3 separate regions of the Homo sapiens genome follow, and regions 2 and 3 are each linked to region 1. The links are contacts of gene promoters, found by promoter capture Hi-C in blood cells and fetal thymus (Javierre and others, 2016). All regions are on one chromosome and are shown on one strand. The core of a region is centred on a gene start or on the middle of the fragment in contact, and the rest is flanking DNA. Distances in the headings are between cores, read along the strand shown. Region 1 holds the start of PGK2 (phosphoglycerate kinase 2). Region 2 holds the start of CRISP2 (cysteine rich secretory protein 2). Region 3 overlaps CRISP2 (cysteine rich secretory protein 2).

Region 1 (4,731 bases), core at 1,941-4,440:
AACAGAAGAGTATATTTTCCTTTTGGGTCTTTCAAATCTAGTATTTGTAAATCATGGTGAATAGTAATTTGAATACTCAGAATCTATTTATCACTACATTCAAACAGTCCATTAAGCTCCACCTCTAGTAGAGGAATGTGTCTACATACATTATTTGGAATTCCTCTGTAGAGAAGTTTTGTCCTTTCCCCCACCCCCACTTATTTATTTATAAGTCACTGCTTCTCTGCCCTCTTACGAACAGAGCTTGAAAATATTTGCGTTTATCAAAATCCTGTTTGAGTAGGCAGAATAACGGCCCACCAAAGATGTCCATGTCCTATTCCCCAGAACTTGTAAATACTGATGCTACATGACAAAAGAGACTTTGCAGATATAATTATATCACAGTATTTAATTAGGGAGTTTATCCTGTATTATCTAGTTTGGCCCAACTTAATCAAATGAGTCCTTAACAGCAGAGAATTTTCTCTGGATGAAAGTGGAAAACAGATGGAGTAGAAATGAAAATCAGAGAGATTCCAATTGTAAGAAGAATTCAATGCATCATTGCTGGCTCTCAGATACAGGAACCTACAAACCTGAGAGGGCCTTTAGGGGTTTATTAACAGCCAGCCAAAAGCAGGTAGCTCAGTCCTATAATTGCAAGGAACTGAATCCTGCCAAAAGCCTAAATGAGCTTAGAGGTAAATTCTTCCTAGAGCCTTGTAATGAAAACCCAGCCATCAAAACTTTATGAAATCCAGAGCAAGAAACCAGCAGAGCCAACCTGAATCTCTGACCTACAGAATTGTTTTTGAACACAAAATTGTGTTATTTCAAGTAGCTAAATTTGTGACAACTTGCTTCAGTAGCAAGAGAAAATTAACACATATTTATACACATATATCTGTAATTATTTTCCATATCAACCTATGTGTATATTGAACTTAATATGAGTTCATACCGATATCTCAGACTCTTAATCCAGCACCACAGAGTTCATTCTGCCCTTGCTTATTTGTAATTTATTTTCCTGACGGTGAGAAACTTTTAATTATCTTCCATTATTTGTTTATCTCTAATAACACAAATAGTTTAAGAATTATTCACCTATAAGCTTGTGATATTCAAACTTACCAACTAGAGTATTATATTTATGGACAGCTGTTTTTGTCTTTAGTTTTACAAACTGAAAACCTCTTTTGCAAAGTTACTTAAGTCATTTCCTTTTTTTGTCCACATCACCTGTAGTAAAATTTCCACATCACATGTAGTAAAATTTCCTATATATTACGATACAGTTAGGCTTATCTGTCAGAGGCTACATTATATAATACGATTCCCTAACACTCTGGATCATATTTTTTATTTGCATTCATTAAAGTTTACTCTCTACAACGTACGATTCTATGAATTTTGACAAGTGCATAGAATGTTGTATCCACCACTCCAGTACCTCATAGAAAAGTTTACCACACTAAAAATCCTCCTGTGTATCCCCATTATAGTTGACCACGCTCTCTTAACCTGTAGCAACCACTGATATGTTTTCCATCCCTATAGTTTTGCCTTTTATCAAATGTCATACAAATGGAATTATACAATAACTACAAAATTTTTTTGCCTGGCGTCTTTCAGTTAGTAAGGCACATTTAAGTTTTATCCAGGGCTTTTGTGTAAGTAAATAGCTTGTTTCTTTTCTTTTTTTAAAAAATAATATTCCATTGCATGGATATATCACAGTTTATTTATTTATTACTTGAAGAATATACAATTTTGGTAATTATTAATAAAACTGCTCTAAACGTTTGTTTACAGAAGTTTGAGAGAATACAGGTTTTTGATGTCCTTGGATGAATATCTAGAAATAGGATTGATGACTTGTATGGTAAGTCTATGCATATTTCTAAGAAATTGCCAAGCTGTTTCCCAAAATGTCTGTAGCATATTTCATTCCTGGGAGCAACAAATGAGAGTTTCTGTTACTATATATTTTAACACCATTTAAGTTTGCTTTTAAATGCTGTTGACTCGATGTTCAACATTGAGGAACCGATAAACTGTTTTTTAAAGTGGCTGCACCATTAGACATTCCTATCAGCAATAAATGAGGATTCCAATTTGTCCACTTCTTTCTCAACACTTGTTTTTATTTTTTATTTTAGCCATCTTAATAGGAGATGCCTCAAATATATTTCTGTCAAAGCCTTCATTTTACATATTTAGTTCACTCAACTTATGGAGTAGAATGAAAAAAACTGTAAAGCCAATTTTCATTACTAAACCAACTAGCCACATACATTTGCTTTCTCCAAAAATAGAATATCTTACTCACTTTCAATTCTAATATATGTTTTCATCTTCATGAAAACCATGCATTTATTTTTCAGCTCAATTTCTAAGTTGTACAGGTAGGAAAGCAAACAGAGAGGAGACAAAAAATAAGGAGCCTCATCATAACATTGTAGTCTGAAAGAAATGTCACCATTACTTTCAGCACTTGTTACTGATACTCTCTTTGCTATGATCTTATGGGATTCTCCTGCAGAAGTGACCAAACATTCTTTCATGGTAGTCTGAAAATGGAAGAAGCAAAGTAATGAAAATATGACAGCATTCCCACCACGTCCCAGAATAGATCTAAAGATGAAGACTAACAACAAGCCACATCCTCAAAGAAATATTTATCAAGACAAGGAAAAAACAGAACTATACTATCCTGACTTGAATAAGCAAGGTTTCATATGAAAATCATTATTTCAAATATTCCTTTTATTTGGCACTGCAGAGGTTTTTACATATCAAAATGGTTAAGATTTGACATGAATGAGGTGTATGTAGGTTTGCGGGGGTGGGGGTGGAGTTCTTTTTGTTTTGTTTTTAATAATAAAAGCAACTGTTAACCGAGCTGTGGGGTGGGGGCAAAAAGAGCCAGAAGGCGGCGCACACCTCAGGACTATTCTTGTTTTTTTAGAACCATTCTTATTCTGGGGTTTCTTCACCTACCCAAGTCTCGCCTGAAGCCAGGTACAGCTCTATTCCACTACATGACCCTCTGCCCAGGAAGTTGGAATCTTCACCTAGCAACACAGTTCAGATCGAGATTGACAGGACCATGAGCCAATCACAAAGCTAGATTTGCTTTCCAGTCTAACAGTGGCCGTTGTGCTGGAGACAGTGAGGAGAAGAAAGGGGCGGGACAAGGGCAAAGGCGTTAGAAGTCACCACCGACCCAGCCCCTCAACAGCAAGTTGGTTCTTCAGCATTAAGATCCAGGTGTCAGCCTATGTCTTTATATTGTCAAGATGTCTCTTTCTAAGAAGTTGACTTTAGACAAACTGGATGTTAGAGGGAAGCGAGTCATCATGAGAGTAGACTTCAATGTTCCCATGAAGAAGAACCAGATTACAAACAACCAGAGGATCAAGGCTTCCATCCCAAGCATCAAGTACTGCCTGGACAATGGAGCCAAGGCAGTAGTTCTTATGAGTCATCTAGGTCGGCCTGATGGTGTTCCCATGCCTGACAAATATTCCTTAGCACCTGTTGCTGTTGAGCTCAAATCCTTGCTGGGCAAGGATGTTCTGTTCCTGAAGGACTGTGTAGGCGCAGAAGTGGAGAAAGCCTGTGCCAACCCAGCTCCTGGTTCAGTCATCCTGCTGGAGAACCTGCGCTTTCATGTGGAGGAAGAAGGGAAGGGCCAAGATCCCTCTGGAAAGAAGATTAAAGCTGAGCCAGATAAAATAGAAGCCTTCCGAGCATCACTTTCCAAGCTAGGGGACGTCTATGTCAATGATGCTTTTGGCACTGCACACCGCGCTCATAGTTCCATGGTGGGAGTGAATCTGCCCCATAAAGCATCCGGATTCTTGATGAAGAAGGAACTAGATTACTTTGCTAAAGCCTTGGAAAACCCAGTGAGACCCTTTCTGGCTATACTTGGTGGAGCCAAAGTGGCAGACAAGATCCAACTTATCAAAAATATGCTGGACAAAGTCAATGAGATGATTATTGGTGGTGGAATGGCTTATACCTTCCTTAAGGTACTCAACAACATGGAGATTGGTGCTTCCCTGTTTGATGAAGAGGGAGCCAAGATCGTTAAAGATATCATGGCCAAAGCACAAAAGAATGGTGTAAGGATTACTTTTCCTGTTGATTTTGTTACTGGGGACAAGTTTGACGAGAACGCTCAGGTTGGAAAAGCCACTGTAGCATCTGGCATATCTCCTGGCTGGATGGGTTTGGACTGTGGTCCTGAGAGCAACAAGAATCATGCTCAAGTTGTGGCTCAAGCAAGGCTAATTGTTTGGAATGGGCCGTTAGGAGTATTTGAATGGGATGCCTTTGCTAAGGGAACCAAAGCCCTCATGGATGAAATTGTGAAAGCCACTTCCAAGGGCTGCATCACTGTTATAGGGGGTGGAGACACTGCTACTTGCTGTGCCAAATGGAACACTGAAGATAAAGTCAGCCATGTCAGCACTGGAGGCGGTGCCAGTCTAGAGCTTCTGGAAGGTAAAATCCTTCCTGGAGTAGAGGCCCTCAGCAACATGTAGTTAATATAGTGTTACTTCCTTCTGTTTTCTGTCCATGGCCCTTAAGTCAGCTTAATGCTTTTACATCTCGATGTGACTTTTGTTAAAATCTACTCCTAGATCAAGACCTATGTAATGGACAAGCAGCAGGCCATCAGGAACTCTTAATATCAGCACAGCAATTCATTTTAGTTTGGTCACGCATTTGCCT
Region 2 (4,051 bases), core at 1,033-3,532, 74 kb after region 1:
CTCCAAACCATAGAAAAAGGAACTAACAAATGATGCCCTTCTAGAAAAGCAAAGGACTCCTGGCAATGTTCTTAGAAGTACCTGTACTATTCCTCTCAGTAATGGAGATCTACTTTCCATGTGCTCTCCAACACATTCAGGCACCAAACTTACAAGTCTTCTATTCTGGATTTGCCCTTCATACAAAATCTATCAACACTTTTTAAAAATCTCTTCATATTCCACCCTTTTGTCCTATTTCTACTACTACAAAATTAATCTGGGGAATTGTTACCACACTTATTTTTGCTGCCATCAATTTCTCAGCTCTGTAAATCACCCCATGCAGTGAGATCAGGTGGCTTTTATGAAACATTCTTTTGATCAAAGAATTTCCCAACCCTCCAAAATGTCAATGAAATTACTTTCCCATGTTATACAGAGAAGCAAATCTCCTTAGACTTCTATACAAAGTTTCCCCAACCTTTTCAACAGTCTTTCTGTCTTGAATATGCCTTGTGATATAATGATTTATCTGCTTTTGTTCTTCAACTCTTTCTCCCTTCAAATCAAGCCATACGCATTATTCAATAACAGTTCAAATGTCAAAACTTTCCTAGGTTTTACCCAGATCATATCAACTCACAGAACTCTCAATTACTGTATATATTTTTGGTCGCCCTACTTAGCATTAAACTACACTACCTAATAGTATTCTTTACTTATTCATATACATACTCCTTTCTCTCATAGTACTATGAGTCTTAGAAGAAAGAGATTTTATGTCCTTTTTTCTGTATTTTCTAAGAATCTATGTCGGGTCAATATTTACTCACTTAACAAATATTTACAAACTACCACCTATATTTGGTATTGTGTTAGTTTTGGAGATACAGCAATAATCAAGACAGACATAGCCAATTTCTGAAATTCAGGTTCACCAACAATATCTGGCACCACAGCGCTCAAGTTGCTCTCATTCTGATATCATCAATGTGAATATGGGAACAAGTAATAATTACAGGAATGACTCTTCTCCAAAAATGAAAAATAAGATATTCACAGTAAATGATAGACTATTATAGTGCTGAGAATGAATTGTTCGGCACTAGAAAGAAAGAACAAATAGGTAGGCAGAGATTTTGTGCATATAGGTATTTGAAATGTCCAATTAATAACTTAAGCAAGATATGGTGAAAACATGAATATAGAAGTGAGGGACAGATTGAGGACTAGATTTCATAAATATTTAGAAAGGCAAACTGTCAGTAATGAATTTTGATATTGGATGTAGATATAAGCGTTAAGCAGTCTAAATTCCAAAATTTTTAGTCAGTGCTGCATGAACTGAAATAAGCAGCAAAAGAAAACTAAAACAATGTCTGTGTGCTGATCCCTTGAAATTACCTTGTAACACTGCCAAAGGAAAATGGCACTGAGCACCAAGTTTGTTATAGTTTCAGTTGTGCCCAAGTGAGTCTCCAGAGTTGGTGAAATCTCAAGCCTCTTATTGCATGGCTTACAGAGAACCAAGGTATGACGGATATTAATCCTTGGCTTGACATCTTTTGACCCATCTCTCTTCCTCTAGGTCATAAGCGAATTCACTCCTTTTCGCTTTGAAAACAACTGTGAATAGAAGAAAATGCACCTATTACTCATCCGCCTTCTGAGAGAGAAAACATGTCTTTAACCCATGCTTGATACGTATGCTAAACTTGCAGCCAGTAGCCTTGGGTCAGGAGTTCTGCGTATTTTCATAAGAGTTGTTCCTGTTACTCTTCGTGAATTTTCTCACCATAAAACTGTTGCCAACGGGGAAGAGGGACAAGAACATGAAGTGTTTATGAGGGAGCCTGAAACTGACAACCTGTGTAACTGGAGTGCGTCGTTGGCATGACACTGGCAGCGCACTGCAAACTTAAGCACCTGTGGACTCCTAATTAGCTCTTTAAATTGAACTACATTAATTCAGGCATTCTTGTTTGAATGCGAACGCCTCCTTTTTCAAGCCACCCCCTGGGCAACCCGAATCCTTATATGACCTCCCTCCTCCTCCTAGTACGGCGCAGGTATGCGAACAGACATTTTCTTTCCTCATCAACTGGTGGTAATGAGAAAAAGAGAACTCTGCTTTTCACAAGGGAAAACGTGCAAGATTTTCTCCGTAGTAGGGGAGGCGGGGGCGATGGGAGGAGAGCAGCTCACGTAGGCAGATAGCGGCGATGAAAGCATAAAGCCCAGTGACGTCGCCCACACGTGGCGCCTGGCAAGTGAACAATCGCGGTGAGAGGGGCGCGCCGCAGCTCCTCAACGCCGCAACGCGCCGGCCCAACTGCAGGAAGGTCTGTGCTCTGGAGCCAGGGTAAATGTAAGACCCGGATTGGAGACTAGAAATGGCTAGGGACGGGGAGGTGGGGTGAAGCACAGGGGAGAGAACCATCGTTGAGGTGAGGGGGTTTCTGATCCTCCTTCGCTCCTCTTCCGGCATCTGGAGGGCACATAGCTAATGCCGGGCAGACTGAGAGTTCAATTTTGTTGCTTAGCGCCGACCTACCATAACTTTCAACATGCTTCTCTATGTTTAGTCTATTGAAACTCTTTACCTACCTTAAAAGAGAAATCATTCTAAGTACATAAGACCCATTGAATCATAGTAGAAGCCTGAAGTCATTTCTCAATCTGCTTTTTACGAAGTCAAATTAAGACTCTTAGTTTCTAATTGATGTTTTGAATGTACAGTTATTAGAAACTGTAATAACAATTAGAGTTGGGGTCATTGACTCTGCTGGACTTTATATCATCTATTGGCTTCCAGAATTTAAAAAAAAAATGAAGAGACAAAGCTGTTACCCCCAAATCCACGTAGTTAATACTTACCATGTGGGACACTGCTTATGGAAATGATCTTTTAAAGAATGGGTTGAAGTCCTAGATAAGGGGTTGGGAGTCTTGAAAAAAGGTTGCAATTTTCCAAGCAAGTTAGCCAACTAGTAGTTACTGAACTTCAAGAAGTCCACTTTTTTGTTAGTGTTTGAAGGAAATATCAGGGCGTTGAAATACAATCTGACCTCAGAAGGACAATATGGTCTTAACGCTGAAATCAAATAAATACAGTAAATTATTAGAAACAATACTAAACAATTGAGTCAAAATTTAAGTTTGTGACAAAGATTATAGATACCATCTATAAGGGTATTCTTCACATCTTTATTTTAAATATTTTGTTTCCTTGTTCTAGGGTTATAAAATTATACACCATGGCCCTCCTAAAGACACTCTAGGAAAACCATGTCATCCTGATCTTAAAACACCTGCAAGAAAGAGCACAGTACTTCACCATTAGTAAGTAGCAAAGAAAAAAAATGGTAGCCAACTTTTCAACTATATATCAATATGGGTTTAAAGGAATAAAATGTAATTATATGGAATAGAAAAAAATATTTTTCCTTGAATATACTCTCACCAACAGTGACATTGCTTTCATTGACTCAATGAAGATGAGTATAGGTTAGATGGTTGAGGTTATGAGAGAGAAGAGCAGCAAAGAGGAGAGTATGGCATCATGGCCTATTATAGAATTCTGGCTCATCAGATGCATACACTGGGTGATTGAGCTATACAAAACTCTTCAGGCTCCTGTGTATGGCTTTCAATGAGCTGATGAGGATACAACAGCCCAGATGTTAGAGCATTTTCCTAAAGTCAGCCAGAAGGTGTCTAATAGAACCAGGCCTTGAACATGTGAATCTCGAATTAGATTATACTGATTGTATTTTCCTATAACACCTGGAAGGAAACACATGTCTCTTAAACACTTAGTAATTAGCAATTCAATCAAACAGCATATGTTTATAGAAAGCTCTTATGAGCTCAACAAACTAGCAGACATTGCAAAAGATAATAAAAACATGAATAATTTCCGTTTATTTGTATTATGTGCATAATGTGTTTATTGTATTAGAGGTGTTACATACATTGTCCCTTCCAGTCTTCAAAGCAAAAACCTGTGATATAAAAATCTACATTTTACATAAGAAAAACACTGAAGCTTGGCATAGATTTCCCAGAC
Region 3 (4,729 bases), core at 2,109-4,608, 98 kb after region 1:
CAGTATCAAGATCTCCTAAGTAACTGTGATTCCTTGAAGAATACAGCTGGCTGTGAACATGAGTTACTCAAGGAAAAGTGCAAGGCTACTTGCCTATGTGAGAACAAAATTTACTGATTTACCTAGTGAGCATTGTGCAAGACTGCATGGATAAGGGCTGCATCATTTAATTGCGACATACCAGTGGAAATTGTATGTATGTTAGTGACAAATTTGATTTCAAAGAGCAATGCATCTTCTCCCCCAGATCATCACAGAAATCACTTTCAGGCAATGATTTACAAAAGTAGCATAGTAGATGATGACAACTGTGAACTCTGACATAAATTTAGTGCTTTATAACGAACTGAATCAGGTTGAGGATTTTGAAAACTGTATAACCATAGGATTTAGGTCACTAGGACTTTGGATCAAAATGGTGCATTACGTATTTCCTGAAACATGCTAAAGAAGAAGACTGTAACATCATTGCCATTCCTACTACCTGAGTTTTTACTTGCATAAACAATAAATTCAAAGCTTTACATCTGCCGTTGTCTTAATGACCTTTCTTTTAAACAAAAGTAATCAGCTTTTCGAACAAAGAACTTTTCTAAGCAACCATATGATATGATTCTTATGCAATATTTATACCATTCATAATTAACTCCAGCTAGATTCATCTGAGATAAATGATAAAACAGCAACATTTTCAAAATAGTTGTCTATAAAGTTAAATTTTAACAAAAAATTAATCAGTTCTACTCTTACTTGCTTTCTCCTTTTTGATATTTTGATCTCCCTACTGGTTTAGTTGATTTTTTTAAAGCCAACGAAAAGAGGACATAATTTAACCAAATATACAAATACAGCCTTCCAAGAAAACAAACAAGTGGAATAATCAATATTAGGTTGGTAACGACAGGGTAAAGTAAGCCCATCTTATAGATGAGAAAACATATACTAAAACTTTTTTTAAAAGTGGAAAGGTTATTGAAAACCAGAAAGTAGATCTGGCTAGACAGATGGTGAAATAGCATGAGCTACTAATGCCTACAGAATTAAACAGATTATCTGAATCATCCTATAACCATTAAGGAAATTGAATTAATAATCTTAAAGCTTCCAAAAAGGAAATTTCTAGGCCCCCAAATGGTTTCACCACATAATTCTGTCAAATACTTAAAAGAATAATTAATAGCAATTTTACAGTTTCTTCCAGAAAATTACATGGGAGAAAATACTTCTTAATTCAGTCTTTAAGATAGTATTATCTTAGTACTAAAACTAAAGACATTTCAACGGAAAAAATATATAGAGAGAGATCTATCGCTATCATGAGCATAGATGAAAAAATTTTAAACAAACATTTAGTAAATGTATCAGCAATATAGTAAAAGGAAAACATACCCTGACACAGACTTGAAACAAATTACAAGAATAAATCAAAATTAAACTGTGTCTAGAAGATAAATTGCCTATTATAGAATATATTCATTGTATATATAGCTCCCCAAGAATTTCTTTGGAAATTGATTTTTTGACAAGATGAGCGTTTCTTCATCCTAATCTTAATAATTCAAGTGTCTTACAAACTATGTTTTAAAATATTTAAGCCTATTTTAGGAGAGAAAAGGAATATTTATATTTGTAACTGCAAGAGCACTGAGGTAGTGTGACAATGTGAGAGAGAAGCAAACAGAATATTCCACTTGAGTGGTTCTCATATGAAGCACTCCGTTATTGGGGTGGCATTTGAAAGGTTTTAAATACAGAGTTTTCTTTAAAATTTTAAGATTAGAGTTAGCTTTGTGGGTGGAAGATCTGATCTGGTCCTTAACAGAAGTGACTAAAAAATAACCTTTATAAATACTTTCAGGTAGTAGGAAAATCTTTGCTATTCTCATAGCATTCTTAAAATTTATCTAACTCTAGTGACTGGTTAAAAAAAAAAACCCTCTATACCAGAATCTTTAAAATTTAATTGCTAATTAAGAGTTACACTCAAAACACTTTTTCTCCCACTAAACTGAACAGTTGTTTTAGTGTAATGTATGTTTTGTCTTATATAATTGAATTTGTATCACTAAGCTTACCTTCATTCTACAATAATAATAGTAAATTCTTAGATACTGTATAGTTATTTAATTTTTCAAAATGTTAATGACGATTTTGATATATACCTTTTTAACCAACGAAAATGTCCAAATCTAAAGTAAAATGTCTTCAGAAATACTCCAAATACCCACAAACATTTGATTTTATAGATTTTGCTGAATCTTTTCCAAAATGAACATTTTCAGTGAACATTATGATATCATTGCTAACTCAAGTTCCTCCTTCATTTGGTCATGTATTAACTATTAATCTGTGTTTCCTTCTACATTCATGCTCCCATAATTCATTGATTTCTGTCATTTGATTGTGCCTCAGCCTATTTCTTTTCATACTTCCTTGCTTTTGTTTATCTTAGTTTTTCTTACTTAATCTGGTCAGAATCGTATTTAATTTTAATTTCAGTCAAATGTTTCATATGAAATTACTCCTTCCTCTTGGATCACACAGGATTTGTTTGGGTTTCTTTCATGAAAACGTGCTTTCTCTATTAAATATTAAGTTACCCCAGGAGAAACCTGTGACTATTTATTCCTATGGCTTGCAGTGCATGCACACTGTGGTGTACATATGGTAGGCTATCATTCAGTATTTACCACATGAATGGAGATGTCTTTATCATCAATTCTGTTCTCAATCAGGTATTGACTAAATAGGAGACAAGATACCTAAGGGTACAGAATATTAAAAACTTTTTTGATAAGCAAACAATATGAATTTTACATTAGGAAAATCCATAACTATGTTCCAAATGCAAGTTCTCTTTAAATTGCTGACTGATATTTATTAATTCCAATAAAGCAGATATAGAAATTTTAAAGATAGAAGATGCTCTTATAAACAGCTGAGAATTTTTTTTAATATACTCATTTTTGTCTTCTGCTTTGAAAACCCTCCCACTGTCCTCTAACTTGGTTTCTCTCTGGAAAGAAAGAGTGATGTGGAAGAGGGTGAATTTATCACCTTTTTGTTAAGAATAGTGAGGAGAGGGGGATTCTGATTAGAACTTAGATTAACCCATACTATCTAAGAATGTGATAAGTTCCTCCATTTACTCAGAGTATACTTTATGTTCTTAGAAAACATTAGAAAATATTTAATGTACATTTTGTTTCTTTTTAATAAAACTTATTCCTAAAAATGTAAAAGTTATGGAGTAAATTTTTAATGATTAAAGCGTTATTGTTATTATTTTTAAAAAAGAAATTTTTATACCTATTTTATATCCAGTCATCTCATTAAACTAATTAGTTTTAGTAATATTTTGAGTTGTTTAGGTAGTAAGTTATTTAAAATACTGCTTGGCACATAATGAGTGATTAATAAACAATGTTATTATCATCCAGGACTCTGCTATATTCCAGTAAAATAGATTAATAACTCAGTGCCATTTTATAGCATTAAAATACATATAAGCAAGAAAATAATAAAAACATAAGTAATTATAGCCCAATATGATAAATACCATACTAGAGGTATATATTAATTTGGTGTTGATTGGGATGTTTTGATGTCTGTAATATAATTTTAAATATGCTAGTATAAAAGGGTCTGTCTAAATATGTGTGGTGGTTTTAAATTATGCTTTAGGAATGGTCATTTTCTTTCATCAGAAATTCATAATCCAGGCTGGGCACAGTGGCTCACAGCTGTAATCCCAGCACTTTGGGAGTCCAGGGAGGGCAGATCACCTGAGGTCAGGATCAGGTCAGCCTGATCAACATGGTGAATCTTCATCTCTACCAAAACTACAAAAATTTGCCGGACGTCATGGCAGGTGCCTATAATCCCAGCTACTTGGGAGGAGGCTGAGGCAGGAGAATCGCTTGAACCCGGGAGGTGGAGGTAGCAGTGAGCTGAGACGGCGCCATTGCACTCCAGCCTGGGCAACGAGAATAAAACTCAGTCCCCCCCAAAAAAATAAAAGAAAAGAAAAGAGAAAATCATAATCTAGGGTGTACAGCTAGTGTTTACTCAGAGCAAACTATAAAGATAATGTAACTGCTACAAATAATTCAACTAATAATACCTTAATCAATATGAGACTTTTTAAATGAAAGTAATGAGATTCAAAAATGCATTTTTGTGGAAATAAGGTAATGTAAAGCAGTCATTTTGGAAAGAGGCTCTCAGCATAGACATTAATGGTATTCAAAATTTTCTACAAAATTTAGAGGCAATCCCCACTCAACAGGTAACATTAACAGAGTAAGATCTGTTTTCGGAATATTTTCTCATCACAATATAATGGCTTTTTGGCCTGTACCTTAAAGCCCAATTAGTTACCAGCTAGGTTGCTAGTAAATGCCCAGTGACTCATTTGTGGCAGATAATATTTTAATGTATTTTCCTAATTGAAAAAAAAAGCATTTTTATTTTGTATTTTATTTGTATTTATATTCTGTATATTTCCCAGTTGACTAGCCTTAAAAAATAAAAAAGAAACATCCTTATCTTAAAGTCTTCTAGTATTAACAGAAGAAGCACCACATAACACAAAAACAAACACGCTTTTCTAAATACAAGGAAAACTGAATCCTGTTCAAGCTTTTCTCCAACTGTAAATATGCATGTCACTTAATTTTTCAGAACCATAGTTTTGTTAATTTGTTTTAAAGATGTAAAACTAAGAGTG

The links. Contacts are between HindIII fragments. The CHiCAGO score rates a contact against its expected background, and 5 or more counts as called.
Region 2: a contact is called between the fragment with the promoter of CRISP2 here and the fragment with the promoter of PGK2 in region 1, in 4 of 17 cell types (erythroblasts, neutrophils, megakaryocytes and 1 more). The highest score is 13.2, in erythroblasts.
Region 3: a fragment that was not itself captured here is called in contact with the fragment with the promoter of PGK2 in region 1 in 2 of 17 cell types (erythroblasts and megakaryocytes); the score reaches 16.4 in erythroblasts.

Annotation. Positions count from the first base shown.
Region 1 is chr6:49,785,744-49,790,474 of GRCh38, reverse strand. It overlaps PGK2 (phosphoglycerate kinase 2), which reads left to right and starts at 3,190. Exons shown (of 1, transcript NM_138733.5): 1 at 3,190-4,731. The coding sequence starts at 3,288. The coding sequence ends at 4,541. The HindIII fragment of the contact is 4,736 bases long and covers 1,102-4,731 here.
Region 2 is chr6:49,711,774-49,715,824 of GRCh38, reverse strand. It overlaps CRISP2 (cysteine rich secretory protein 2), which reads left to right and starts at 2,282. Exons shown (of 10, transcript NM_003296.4): 1 at 2,282-2,350; 2 at 3,221-3,324. The HindIII fragment of the contact is 4,905 bases long and covers 1-4,032 here.
Region 3 is chr6:49,688,161-49,692,889 of GRCh38, reverse strand. It overlaps CRISP2 (cysteine rich secretory protein 2), which reads left to right. Exons shown (of 10, transcript NM_003296.4): 10 at 1-531. The coding sequence ends at 117. Among named protein-coding and RNA genes, the nearest start is that of CRISP2, 23 kb to the left of the region's middle. The HindIII fragment of the contact is 2,571 bases long and covers 2,073-4,643 here.